4 separate regions of the Homo sapiens genome follow, and regions 1, 3 and 4 are each linked to region 2. The links are contacts of gene promoters, found by promoter capture Hi-C in human tissues and cell types (Jung and others, 2019). All regions are on one chromosome and are shown on one strand. Each heading gives the region's core, a stretch centred on a gene start or on the middle of the fragment in contact. The rest is flanking DNA. Distances are from core to core; before and after follow the strand shown. Region 1 overlaps SLC25A21 (solute carrier family 25 member 21). Region 2 holds the start of PAX9 (paired box 9). Region 3 overlaps SLC25A21 (solute carrier family 25 member 21). Region 4 overlaps SLC25A21 (solute carrier family 25 member 21).

Evidence for each region. Contacts are between HindIII fragments. The study calls those that stand out against the background at their distance.
Region 1: a contact is called between a fragment that was not itself captured here and the fragment with the promoter of PAX9 in region 2, in 2 of the 25 tissues and cell types used here (H1 embryonic stem cells and IMR-90 fibroblasts).
Region 3: a contact is called between a fragment that was not itself captured here and the fragment with the promoter of PAX9 in region 2, in 1 of the 25 tissues and cell types used here (mesendoderm cells).
Region 4: a fragment that was not itself captured here is called in contact with the fragment with the promoter of PAX9 in region 2 in 2 of the 25 tissues and cell types used here (H1 embryonic stem cells and mesendoderm cells).

The regions. Positions count from the first base shown.
Region 1 is chr14:37,151,277-37,154,331 of GRCh38, forward strand. All of the region lies in intron 1 of SLC25A21 (solute carrier family 25 member 21), which reads right to left. Among named protein-coding and RNA genes, the nearest start is that of SLC25A21-AS1, 19 kb to the right of the region's middle. The HindIII fragment of the contact is 4,167 bases long and covers 1-3,055 here.
Region 2 is chr14:36,660,249-36,663,338 of GRCh38, forward strand. It overlaps PAX9 (paired box 9), which reads left to right and starts at 1,612. Exons shown (of 4, transcript NM_001372076.1): 1 at 1,612-1,845; 2 at 2,649-3,090. The coding sequence starts at 1,842. RefSeq lists a promoter at 346-1,543, a cis regulatory region at 803-1,315 and enhancers at 2,080-2,591, 2,592-3,090. The HindIII fragment of the contact is 9,466 bases long and covers 1-1,696 here.
Region 3 is chr14:37,027,420-37,030,416 of GRCh38, forward strand. All of the region lies in intron 1 of SLC25A21 (solute carrier family 25 member 21), which reads right to left. Among named protein-coding and RNA genes, the nearest start is that of MIR4503, 77 kb to the left of the region's middle. The HindIII fragment of the contact is 8,550 bases long and covers 1-2,997 here.
Region 4 is chr14:36,938,141-36,940,902 of GRCh38, forward strand. The region is part of intron 1 of SLC25A21 (solute carrier family 25 member 21); the gene reads right to left. Among named protein-coding and RNA genes, the nearest start is that of MIR4503, 13 kb to the right of the region's middle. The HindIII fragment of the contact is 4,308 bases long and covers 1-2,762 here.

The DNA of each region.
Region 1 (3,055 bases), core at 23-2,522, 490 kb after region 2:
CAGTATCTTATTAGTTGTGTGCGAATTCAGTTAACAATACGTGAGGGTGGAGGCTTGGCCCACTTCCTGACCAATTGCCTGTAGCATCTGGCAGAAAAAAAGATGCCGCATTAATGCCAACAGAGGCACTGCTGGTTAATATGGAGAATTTCATACTTAAGCTATGGCTGGCATTTAAAAATCTGCAAAAACAAGAAATGGACTTTTGTACAAGGGCAGACCCTGTTTGTTCATTAACACTCAAGTTCAAGAAAAAGCTGTGGTATTTAACATAACCAGAGAGAAAAAGAAGACTTATGGGGGCAATACTTGAAGGGGCTGCTTACCTGATTTCTCATTCTGCACACTAAGAGGCAGGGTGGAGTAATGGATGAGAGCTCAAGCTTTGAAAGCAAAGAGCAGAGTTTGAGTCTGTGTCTGTCATCAGCCTTGAACAAGATATTTAATTTCTCTGAGCTTCACTTTCCTCATCTTCAAGAAATTACAAATTGGCTCATGCCTGGAATCCAGCACTTTGGGAGGCCAAGGCGGGCAGATCACTTGAGGTCAGGAGTTCAAGACGAGCCTGGCCAACATAGTGAAACCCTGTCTCTACTAAAAATACAAATATTAGCTGGGCAGGGTGGCATGTGCCTGTAATCCCAGCTACTTTGGAGGCTGAGGCAAGAGAGACGCTTGAACCCAGGAGAAGGGGTTTGCAGTGAGCCGAGGTCACTTCACTGCACTCCAGTGTGGGCGACAGAGAGAAACCCCATCTCAAAAATAATAATAATAATAGAGATTATTTAAGCAAAGTAAGATGCTTTGCACATAGTAAGCATTCAGTAAATGTTAGCACTCAAAAGATAAGATTTATCTTACTTTTTAAAATCTTATCATACTTATTGACTATGATAGTTAGGAAGGATCTACCCAACCCAAACAAATATCCCAGGAAGTTCATTGTGACTTCTAAAGATGACAAAAAGAATGAATGAAAAGACTGAACTCAAAATAGAAATGAGAAAATGATAATTTGTTTGAAGGTCTGATATTAGTTTCAAAATATATCTCTGAAACATCTTTGAAAACCATTAGCGTCCACTGACTCTCAATTTCATTTTATTTCAATTTTTTTTTTTTTTTGACAGAGTCTCGCTCTCTCACCCAGACTGAAGTGCAGTGGCACAATCTCAGCTCACTGCAACCTCTGCTCCGGGTTCAAGCAATTCTCCTGCTTCAGCCTCCTGACTAGCTGGGACTACAGGCGCCTGCCACCATGCCCAGTTAATTTCATTTTATTTCTGCTATATACCTTAAAAATGTGAGCCTGCAGAGCGCAGAGAAGTCAGAAACACAGTTCTGGAAGTCACCTGCAAACAGACAACACTGAAGCCAAAGAGTGGATGGGTTTGTTTGGGGAGTTAGAATGTGTAAAACACAAGAAGAAAAAAACTAAATAAAATGAATTTAAAATAAATTTTTAAAAGACTGTGTAAAGCAAAAAACTTACAAACATGTAGAATATCAATTTTTGAGGAAAGGGAAAGTGGAGACAATAGAAGACTAATCAAATAGGGGAGAAAGGTTCAAGATGGTTGAGTAGGATTTTCTGGCTCTACTTAGAAGAACTGGAATAGTATATAGACAGTCACACTTCAAATACGTTATCCAAGACAGAATGCTGATGCTCAACACAGAAGAGACAGGAAACACCAAAAGTGGGGAAGGAGGAAAAGAGGCAGCATCCCTGGTCAGGACTGGCTAAGAGCTGGGAGTGACTTCCTAACATGAGGAAAGGGTGAGTGACAGACTTCCAGCAGCCCACATCCCCACCATCAGATCATGCAATCCTAGCCACAGGAGAGCCCCTTGACCATCCCAAGCCCTGAAACTAACACAGGAAGTTGATGGGAGACGAAGGGACAGGGCTGCTCCAGGGAGGGAGCTCCCACACCATTTATAAGACCTAAGAAGCTACAGGAAGGTGCCATTTTCAAAGCTAGCCTCTCATAAACTGCACACTGTCCTTCAGGCCAGCAGCACCAAGACTGAGACATTACAAAAGCTCAAGTTATCACTGCTGGAATGAGGAGTAAGATGGGAGCATTCCCACAGCCAGGGATAAGAAGCAAGCAAGACATGAGCTGCAGCAGCCAGTGCCAGGAAGCGGGTGCTGTCAGGACAGAGACTGGCATGTAAGTGAGCAGAATGAGTTGCTGGTGGGACTTGGTTGCGAGTTGGGTGGGTGCTCCTACAGCTGGGGTGGGGGAACAAGCTAAGCATCAGCTACCACTGCCAGGGTAGGGGGTGAACCCCCAGGACTGGGGCTAGAAAGAAACGTGCATTCCCTACCCACTGGCCCAGGCTGTTGCCACAAAGACAGCAGCTCCCTCTCCAGTGGTGGGGCCTCAGCATGGCTGCTACTGTCTCTAACACAAGCACTTAGCCTGAGGCCTAAGGATCATCCTGGCCACCACAGCTGGTGCCTGCTCTCACCACAAGCCCCACGAGCCTAGCTTCGCTCCTTCACTTCTCCCACCTTAACAGAGCACATAGCCCAGGGTCTCGACTGCTATCTCCTCAGCTGACCTATCTGCAAGCCCCACCTGCAGGACTGGAGACTTCCCCACCCAGCACATCACATCTACTGTCAACATGAACACACACCACTCAGGACCCAGAGAATCATCCCACTACAGCTTCTGCCATCATCCATGCTATACTGGCTGCCAGGTGATTGAAAACACACTCTATGACCCAGTTTACTGCTGCCATTATCAACATCTGAGCAAGCCACCTAGAGGCCCAAAAATCAGACCTCTAGTAACCACAAGTACAGGTGGCAGCATACGTCACCCTGGGGCACAAAGATAGGGATACTCAACCCACCACTGTCATCACTGGTGCCTGGAAACTGGCCCACCTGGCATCTTAGTCCCCAAGCAGAACATCACCACAGACTCCACTAATAATTGCACCCCAACCCACACAGATATCACTAATCCTGTTTAGAGCCAAAGAAATCATACAAAGACTACACTGCTGCATGCCCTCAGAATTAAAAGCCAAAGTG
Region 2 (3,090 bases), core at 362-2,861:
ACACGATGTCACCCAACAGGTATTGGAGGTCAGACCAGGCTGAAATTGCTATCAAGTCAAACTTCAAGAAGATTTTAAACATTTGAAACCAACCAACAAAAAGGGACAAGTTCAAGTATGTCTAGTTGTGGGATTTCCCCCAAGATTCCGATTCTAAAGAGTGGTGTTTTAGTTCATCTTTACCTTTCACATCCTCCATTCTGTTAGGTAATTTTGAATTTAGAGTGCATCCTAACCATAGAAGTGGGAATCTGGAGATCTGTTCCTTTGCAGAAGCATGGCTGATCATAGTTTTTTCCTGGGTTCTTGCAACTTACTGACCTGAGATCTGGGACCAGTCAGCTTCTCTGGGTGTAGACCGCAGCCACACACATCCCTGGGGACTGTTGGGGAAGCAGCCTGAATCCTGTGTGCACAAGGAGCCTTCTGGATTGTCAAGTAGCAGTAACAGAGTTCACGACCCCAAGCAGTACAAACTCCCAAATTCACGAAAATATTTCTCTTCTTGTTTATTATTTTGATTCACATTCTCCACAACCCTAACTGCAAATATTAATAACTTTGGCTGCAAAAAAGCATACGGTACACTTTAGATTAGACTTACAGTGAATAAAAGTGAAAATTCAGAAGTAGGCAGAACGACAGGGCCTCTGGAGCTTAATGGAAGACGAGGGAATTACATCCATGTGCAGCGTCGGTGTCCACTGTCTTGGGACTAAGTCTCTTTCATATTTAAACAAAACTCTTTCGAGAGGGCTCGCTGGTTTGGAGAACCCTCACAAACGCTGCCACCGAGGGCCAGGGGCCCAGGACAGTGGCTGAATGTGGCAGAGCCTTGGGCTCCGTAGTGAGTGCCCCACGCACTGGCAATTGGTCGACTTGGGGCTGTGCGCTAGCGTTAGCCGCCTGTGGTTCAGTTCCCCGCACACGGCGTGGCCCGTGCCTCGAGCCTGTGTGGCTAGTGGTTGGCCGGTCCACCTGGACTGGGGGGTCGCCGCAGGAAGCTGGCGGTAGGAGGAACCTCCCTGGCCTTAACAGTGGCCCCCACCTGTGGCTCGGGCTCCCCGCAACCTCCTGGTTTCTTTGGCCGGCCTATCTTCTCACACCTGCGCTCTCGCCACCTGGCATGGACTGAAGTGAGGTAGAATCGGCAGGTGACACAGATCCTCTCCTGACAGTCCCCAGAGGCCCGCATGACAGATTTTGCTAAGACAACTCCCTCACCCCTGTGCACGGTGGCGCCCGCCTCCCACCTATAGCCTTAACTTCAATTCTGAGATGTCCATCGTTCCCCGGAGGAGGTCTCCTCGGGCCCCTTCTCCCTTCGAGTCATTCACATTCAGACCAAACGCTTTCATTTGTTTATTCAGCATTTTACCAGCCTGATTTTGCTGTCTTTTTGTGCCGCTTCTGGGAAGATGTCAAACACCCATTTTCATTGTATTTAGTCACCCAGGTGGGGAGCTAGCCTGAAAGAGACAGCGGAAGGAGTTTCCTGGACTGCGCTGTCGCTCACCGACCCGCACCAATCACCATGCAGCTTGCCCTCGGACCCGCCCCTTTTAGGGCGTGTCCCCAGTGAGTGATAGACGGAGCCGCCCTGCCCTGCTCAGCCCAGCCCACGTTGCTGCTTAGATTGAAATGCAGAACTCAAGCCTCTTTCATCGGGGCACAGACTTCCTTTTACTTCTTCCTTTTGCCCTCTCGCCTCCTCCTCCTGGGAAGAAGCGGAGGCGCCGGCGGTCGGCCGGGATAGCAACAGGCCGGGCCACTGAGGCGGTGCGGAAAGTTTCTGTCTGGGAGTGCGGAACTGGGGCCGGGTTGGTGTACTGCTCGGAGCAATGGGTGAGTGGCGGCGGGGGACTCTGTCAGAGCCGGGAAGGGAGGGAGGGAGCGAGCGGGCAAGGGAGGGAGGGAGGGAGGGAGCGCGAGGGCGCGCGCCACTAGGCGCTCACATTCTCTATTGACTTTGCTCGTGTTCCTACAAGTTGTAGGAACACGCTAAGGGTCAGCGGCGCACAGCAGTTCAATGTGAACGCTGGCTACTGGGTGGCTGTTGATGCCATTTTCTGATTTTAAGAGAAGGGAGCTGTGGCATCAGCGAGCCCCTCAGCCCGAGTAGCAAACCAAGTTTTGTTTCACACGCGCGCACACATGCAAACAAAACAGGAAAAGAAAAGAAAAGAAAACAAACAACAACAAATAAAACACCCTCTAGCTTCCCCTAGACTTTGTTTAACTGGCCGGGTCTCCAGAAGGAACGCTGGGGATGGGATGGGTGGAGAGAGGGAGCGGCTCAAGGACTTTAGTGAGGAGCAGGCGAGAAGGAGCACGTTCAGGCGTCAAGACCGATTTCTCCCCCTGCTTCGGGAGACTTTTGAACGCTCGGAGAGGCCCGGCATCTCACCACTTTACTTGGCCGTAGGGGCCTCCGGCACGGCAGGAATGAGGGAGGGGGTCCGATTGGACAGTGACGGTTTGGGGCCGTTCGGCTATGTTCAGGGACCATATGGTTTGGGGACAGCCCCAGTAGTTAGTAGGGGACGGGTGCGTTCGCCCAGTCCCCGGATGCGTAGGGAGGCCCAGTGGCAGGCAGCTGTCCCAAGCAGCGGGTGCGCGTCCCTGCGCGCTGTGTGTTCATTTTGCAGAGCCAGCCTTCGGGGAGGTGAACCAGCTGGGAGGAGTGTTCGTGAACGGGAGGCCGCTGCCCAACGCCATCCGGCTTCGCATCGTGGAACTGGCCCAACTGGGCATCCGACCGTGTGACATCAGCCGCCAGCTACGGGTCTCGCACGGCTGCGTCAGCAAGATCCTGGCGCGATACAACGAGACGGGCTCGATCTTGCCAGGAGCCATCGGGGGCAGCAAGCCCCGGGTCACTACCCCCACCGTGGTGAAACACATCCGGACCTACAAGCAGAGAGACCCCGGCATCTTCGCCTGGGAGATCCGGGACCGCCTGCTGGCGGACGGCGTGTGCGACAAGTACAATGTGCCCTCCGTGAGCTCCATCAGCCGCATTCTGCGCAACAAGATCGGCAACTTGGCCCAGCAGGGTCATTACGACTCATACAAGCAGCACCAGCCGAC
Region 3 (2,997 bases), core at 479-2,978, 370 kb after region 2:
GAAGACTATTCTTATAATCAGAATACTGATGATGAGCTTTGAGGTTTTTGTTTTTGTATTTTTTAAGGGCAGTGGGAAGGACCTAGATTTTATCTCTTTGTGGAAGTTCCTCTTTTCCCTGAGCTGAAGCAGAGGCTCCCACAATACTACAGTAGCTCCGGAGTGTGCTCAGCGGCTGTGGCAGCTCAACCATGCAATTTTATAGCAGGCAGCAAACAAGGCAGAGAATTCAGGGTTAAAAACTCAAGTGAAGTTTTGTCTTCTACAGTAATGAAAGCTGACTAAAAGAGTAAATCAAATGGATCTCCTAACAAAATGAAAACAGCTGTTTGGCCTGGCTTGGTCTCTGATTTAGGTTAAGTAATTATTGCTCTAGTGCGGTTCAAGGTTGTTCTGTATTAGTGAAATAAGATATCACATGAAAATCATCCAACTTTTTAATTTACTGTAGCATCAGAAATTCCACTGCATAAAAAACTCTAGAAACGTAATCTTCTAAAAACTTTACCTATAAACCTTTTCAAATACCAATTGATTCAATCTTCCAAGACATAATTACATGATACACAATTACATTATAGTAATAATCTTTAGTATCTAAACTAAGAAAACATTTTAATATTTTAACTTTAAAATGCTAAATTTTTTCAAATTTTACTGAAGTGATATATTATATCCAAATTCTTAAATAACTGTAAATATTTTTTTGTAAGGAGACGTGTGTATAAACAGCAAACAATGAAAAGCTACTTTCTGAGCCCCAAAGAAGCCTATACTTACAGTGTAAATCTTTTTTTTAATTCAACATTGGTATACCAATAGTGGTTGAGAAGAAAAAAAATTATAATGAAAAAGCACAGCAAAGCAATAGCATTGGGGAAGAGGTTTCTGTATCTAACACTAGTCAGTAAAATTATTCATGTCACTTCAAATTCTACTTCTTATTTGCTTTTCATTCTTCTATCACCATCATTAGTGTCACTTCTCTTGAATTGAAGCACTTTATTTCTGCTTCAGCTTGCCAATTATAACAAAGGACAAATCAATGGTAGGTTGGTGATGGTATCTTTTTATTGATGTTCCAGTATTTATTTTTAAATAATAAAAACCTAAAAATATTATCTGATGCAAGACAGTGAATTCCTGAAGAAAACAAGACTGTAAGTTTTGGTCACCTTTTCTGGCTGTTAACCACCATTACAACCCTGGATGGATGCTTAGATGTATGAATAAAAAATAACATTAAAGTATTTTTGAACAACAAATATTGAAATTATAGGATAACGTTTCTTCAATGGTGACATCTTTAGAGCATTTTTTAATGCACTTGGGTACATTCAACTCAGTTCCCAATGAAAGAGAGTGACAGAGAACATTACATCAGAAAATTAATATTTTGAAGAAAATTACTTAAGTGGTTTAAAGCCCAGGGAAAAGTCTCAGATGTTCTTGTTATAGCTATTATTGTTGGACACATAACATGACATATTTACCTTTCCAGTGGGATATAGTTTTGTAGGTTTCCTAAGTCTAAATAGCATTTCTCACTAGTCCTTGCCAATTATTCTAACTAGTACTTGCCAGCACATCAGAATAACAGAAACAAGAGAGTTAAATGTTTTATTCTCCAATATGTTTCCACATTATGATCTTTCTTTGGGGTCAATGTTCCTTAAATAAGTGGCTATATCATATTCAGAGTTTTGATTCAGAAATTGTCTTGTGGAACTAGATCAACAATGCACAATTTGCCTAAGGATTAGAGAGGAACTCAATGACAAGCAATATTTAAAAGGAAGGTTTAATTTTTTCCTTTCAGACAGTTAATGTAAATGCTACTAACTGAGATCTTCAAAAATGATAGAGCACATGAAGCCAGTCTACATTCTTAGCAGTCTGCAATCCAAGGAGGGTTAAAGAGGAATGGTCCTACCCCTTTGCAGACTCCATATTTCTTTTTTTCAAGAAATATAAAGCTTGCTGTTGTTACTGCATAAGTCTTTGTGAATAGGCAAATGTAATTAACTCAATTTTACAACGAAAGCTGGGCATACTCAGTGCCACTTAAACAGTGCATCTTTAATTTCTGAGTCAAAATATAAGGTCAAACTCTACTCAGTTTTCAGCAGCCATGTTTCCACCAGTAGTGTTAGCACAGTACTTACAGACAGAATCCCTCTGCTGAAAAGAGGGGATCCCTCCCTGGAAGTCACTTGTCTTACTCTGAAATACAGTTGGCCTTTCAGCAAGATAGGGAGTAGGGGCACCAACACCCCCACACAGAAGAAAACTGGTATATAGCTTTTGACGCCCCCAAAACTTAACTACTAATAGCCGACTTTTTTTTTTTTTTTTTTTTTTTTGAGACAGATCCTCACTCTGTCACCCAGGCTGGAGTGCAATGGCATGACCTCGGCTCACTCCAACCTCTGCCTTCCAGGTTCCAGTGATTCTCCTGCCTCAGCCTCCCAAGTAGCGGGGATTACAAGCGTGTGCCACCATATCTGGCTAATTTTTTTATTTTTAGTAGAGATGAGATTTCACTATGTTGTCCAGGCTGGTCTCAAACTCCTGACCTCAAGTGATCTGCCTGCCTTGGCTTCCCAAAGTGCTGGGATTACAGGCGTGAGCCACTGCACCTGGCCGAATAGCCTACTCTTGACTGGAAGCCTTACCAATAACATGAACAGTTGACTAACACTTTGTATATGTATTATATAAAGAAAAGAAAATGTTTTTAGGAAAATCATAAGAAAGAGAAAATACATTTACTTTTCATTAAGTGGAAGTAGATCATCATAAAGGTCTTTATCTTCATCATCTTTATGTTGAATAGACTGAGGAGGAAGAGGAAGAGGGGTTGGTCTTGCTGTCTCTGGGGTGGCAGGAGGCAGAAGAAAATCCACACAGAAATAGACCTGATCAATTGAAACCCGGGTCGTTTGAGGGTCAACTGTACTTCTTTTGAGTCCCTGATCTCTCTCTAGCTCTCAGTTA
Region 4 (2,762 bases), core at 184-2,683, 280 kb after region 2:
GAACGCATGCTGTTAAGCTACATATAGAGCCCTAGTGTTGAATCCTTTCTTACTTCATCTTTCTTCGAGAAGCCTTCTCCTGGCAACACCTAGATTTCAATTTAAACAGACTCACGTATGGTAACAAATCAACTCCCCTAGGCACAGAGTGGACTGTGCCAGGCCTTTAACTAAGATTCCACAGGGGTCTACTGATCTAGGACTCTAATTAGGTGGAGTTCACTCATTGCAGGATGACACAGCTCTTCATAAGGCAAAGACCACCTTGTGCATTAATTAGGGCAAAGTTCTGTTTGAGACTCAGTCTCTGGACAGCCTTAGCAGAGCAGCAGGTTTGGTGTCCTTGTCATCTCTGTGTTACGGCCTTCTAAGTCTGCATCCCGCTGAGCCTTAGTCTATGTGCAGAATCAAATACACTTTCTTCTGCTTGGTTGATTTTGATATTTCAATACATGATAAATGATTGCCAATCAATCAGCTGGATCATTGCACAGAAAATCCAATCTGATCATCATGTTCACATCTCGTTGTTTTATTCAATTAATGAACAAACAGGACCAACCACAAAGAATTTTGGTTCCTGAACAATAACTTAGACTCATAAACTTCCCAACAGAAACCTGATGAAAACCAATCAATTTAAGGCACATGTATACAAACATGGCATATGTAATGAGTAAAACATAAATTAGTAAAAAAACAAAAACAAAAACAAAAAACTTCAGAAATCTATATTTCTTATTGCATCACTGAAATAAATCAGTCTCTAATATATTCAGATTTAACTCTCTTATGCTTACTCTTGTTCACTACTCTCAGCTTGTGTTTCTGAAAAGTTTTATGTAAACCCAAGTTCTGTAAACTGAATTGTATTTCAGATACATTAATTTATTGCTTAAATTATAAATCTGTTTGTAATTAATGAAGTCTTCTCAAACATGTCTCTGGTGCAGAGTTGGAATTTCATATAACAGCTTTACTTAAAAGGCAGGTTTTGTTGCAAAATTTTGTGTTTCCCAGCTAATTTGTAACACTCATTAGTAAACCTAAATTTGTGGTCGGACTCATCCATGAAAAAACAAAAGAAAGTCTTATTTCTGTATTCTAAAAAAAGTCGGGTTGGGGGAGCAGTTTGTGTTTCCAAATCATATAAGCTGGAGCCAGGGGTGGGGGGGGAATGTAAATACGAATTCTCTATCATGCATATTTTCTTTTGTGAGGGGTTTGACTGCAATACGATTAAATAGAATATACTCATGTGCACTGCTTGTTAAGACAGCATTTTTTTTGTTAAATGGCCATGTCAAATAAACATGATTTATGTCCCCTTTTTGTTACCCATAATCTTGTTGTCCATCTAAATCTTTGTGACATACTATCTCCAGGTTACCTGGAGCTTTGTCAAATCTCCCAGAACCCAACCTCTCTCCTTTCTCCCAACTTCTTGAAAATCTTCCTCTTGCTGTCCTATGTGAGAGAAACCTTTTATTTTTTAATGCTTTTTATATCAGAAAGACCAATGGTTTATTTGAGGGAAATGTATTTAATATTTAAATACATATAAAAATAAATGGCATACAAACCATTCTACTTACGTTTTATTAAGCTCATTAAAAGGGGATAAAATGGATTCAGAAGACACAGGAACTTAAAAATCAGCGCCATTAGAACCACTTGAGCAAAATCAAAACTGAATGAATGGAAAACATGCACAATTTTAGTCACTGCGAATGTGAACTCACAGAAATAAGAAGATCTGGTTTCTAATTGTTTCACATATCTGTTTTACATTCAGCGTTCTCCTCCACGTCATATTTGCTAAAGAGATCTTCGTCGTCAATAGCAGTCTGCAGTGTACCAGAGCAGAGTTTAAAAATCACCTTAGGTATGTACAAGCCTCCTTTCTCATGTAAGTATTATAGAATGAGAATCTAATAAAGAATGTTACGTGTATATTCTAAACTGCGTATTGCAAAGTTTCATCATTAGACTTGAACTCAGTCAACTTTAACAACGACTACCAGCAGCCCCTTTCAATTAATCTGTTCATACATTACTTTTCCATATAACTAAGCTAGTTTGGAGTTGAAAAGGAAGAAAAATGTGTTTGAAACCACTGATTCTTTTTCATTCATTTTCTTCCAAATTAAAGGAAATGACACTATGTTTATTCCAATATTTTAATAAAATTTTCTCTAAGATTTAAAAAAATATACTACTCTGAATGTAGGTTGGTATTTTTTTTAAAGGTTGCATTATAAATCAAAACTCCTAAAAATAGGAGTTTATGGTGGGATTGACAGTATTTTAACTTTAAAGGCATGAGGGTGTCCTTTTACAGAGGCCTAAATCAAATACAGAAAAAAGTGATGTGTTGCCAGGATGTTCAATGCACTTTCCTTTAATTGCCATATATAGTTAATAGCCTGGTCATTTTTTTCTAAATAAAATAAGTCAGAAAGTTGCAAGCAACTCGATTACACAATATCTTACCATGCAACGTATCAAAAACAAAGAATTTAATCGTTCTGTGGTCTGGGTTGAATTCAACACTGAAATCTTTTCATTGAACTTCACAGCAACAAAGAATTTCAGACTTTCAGATGACCATCTTTGAAGTTGGATAGAACTCTGACCATATTACGATTGTCTGATACTGAAAAAGGACAAAGTACAGAATCCAGTATTCCAACCAAGATTTGGGCTGATCTGAGAAACTGGAGAAAAGTACTGTGAAGGAATTGCAGATATAGAATGACTGG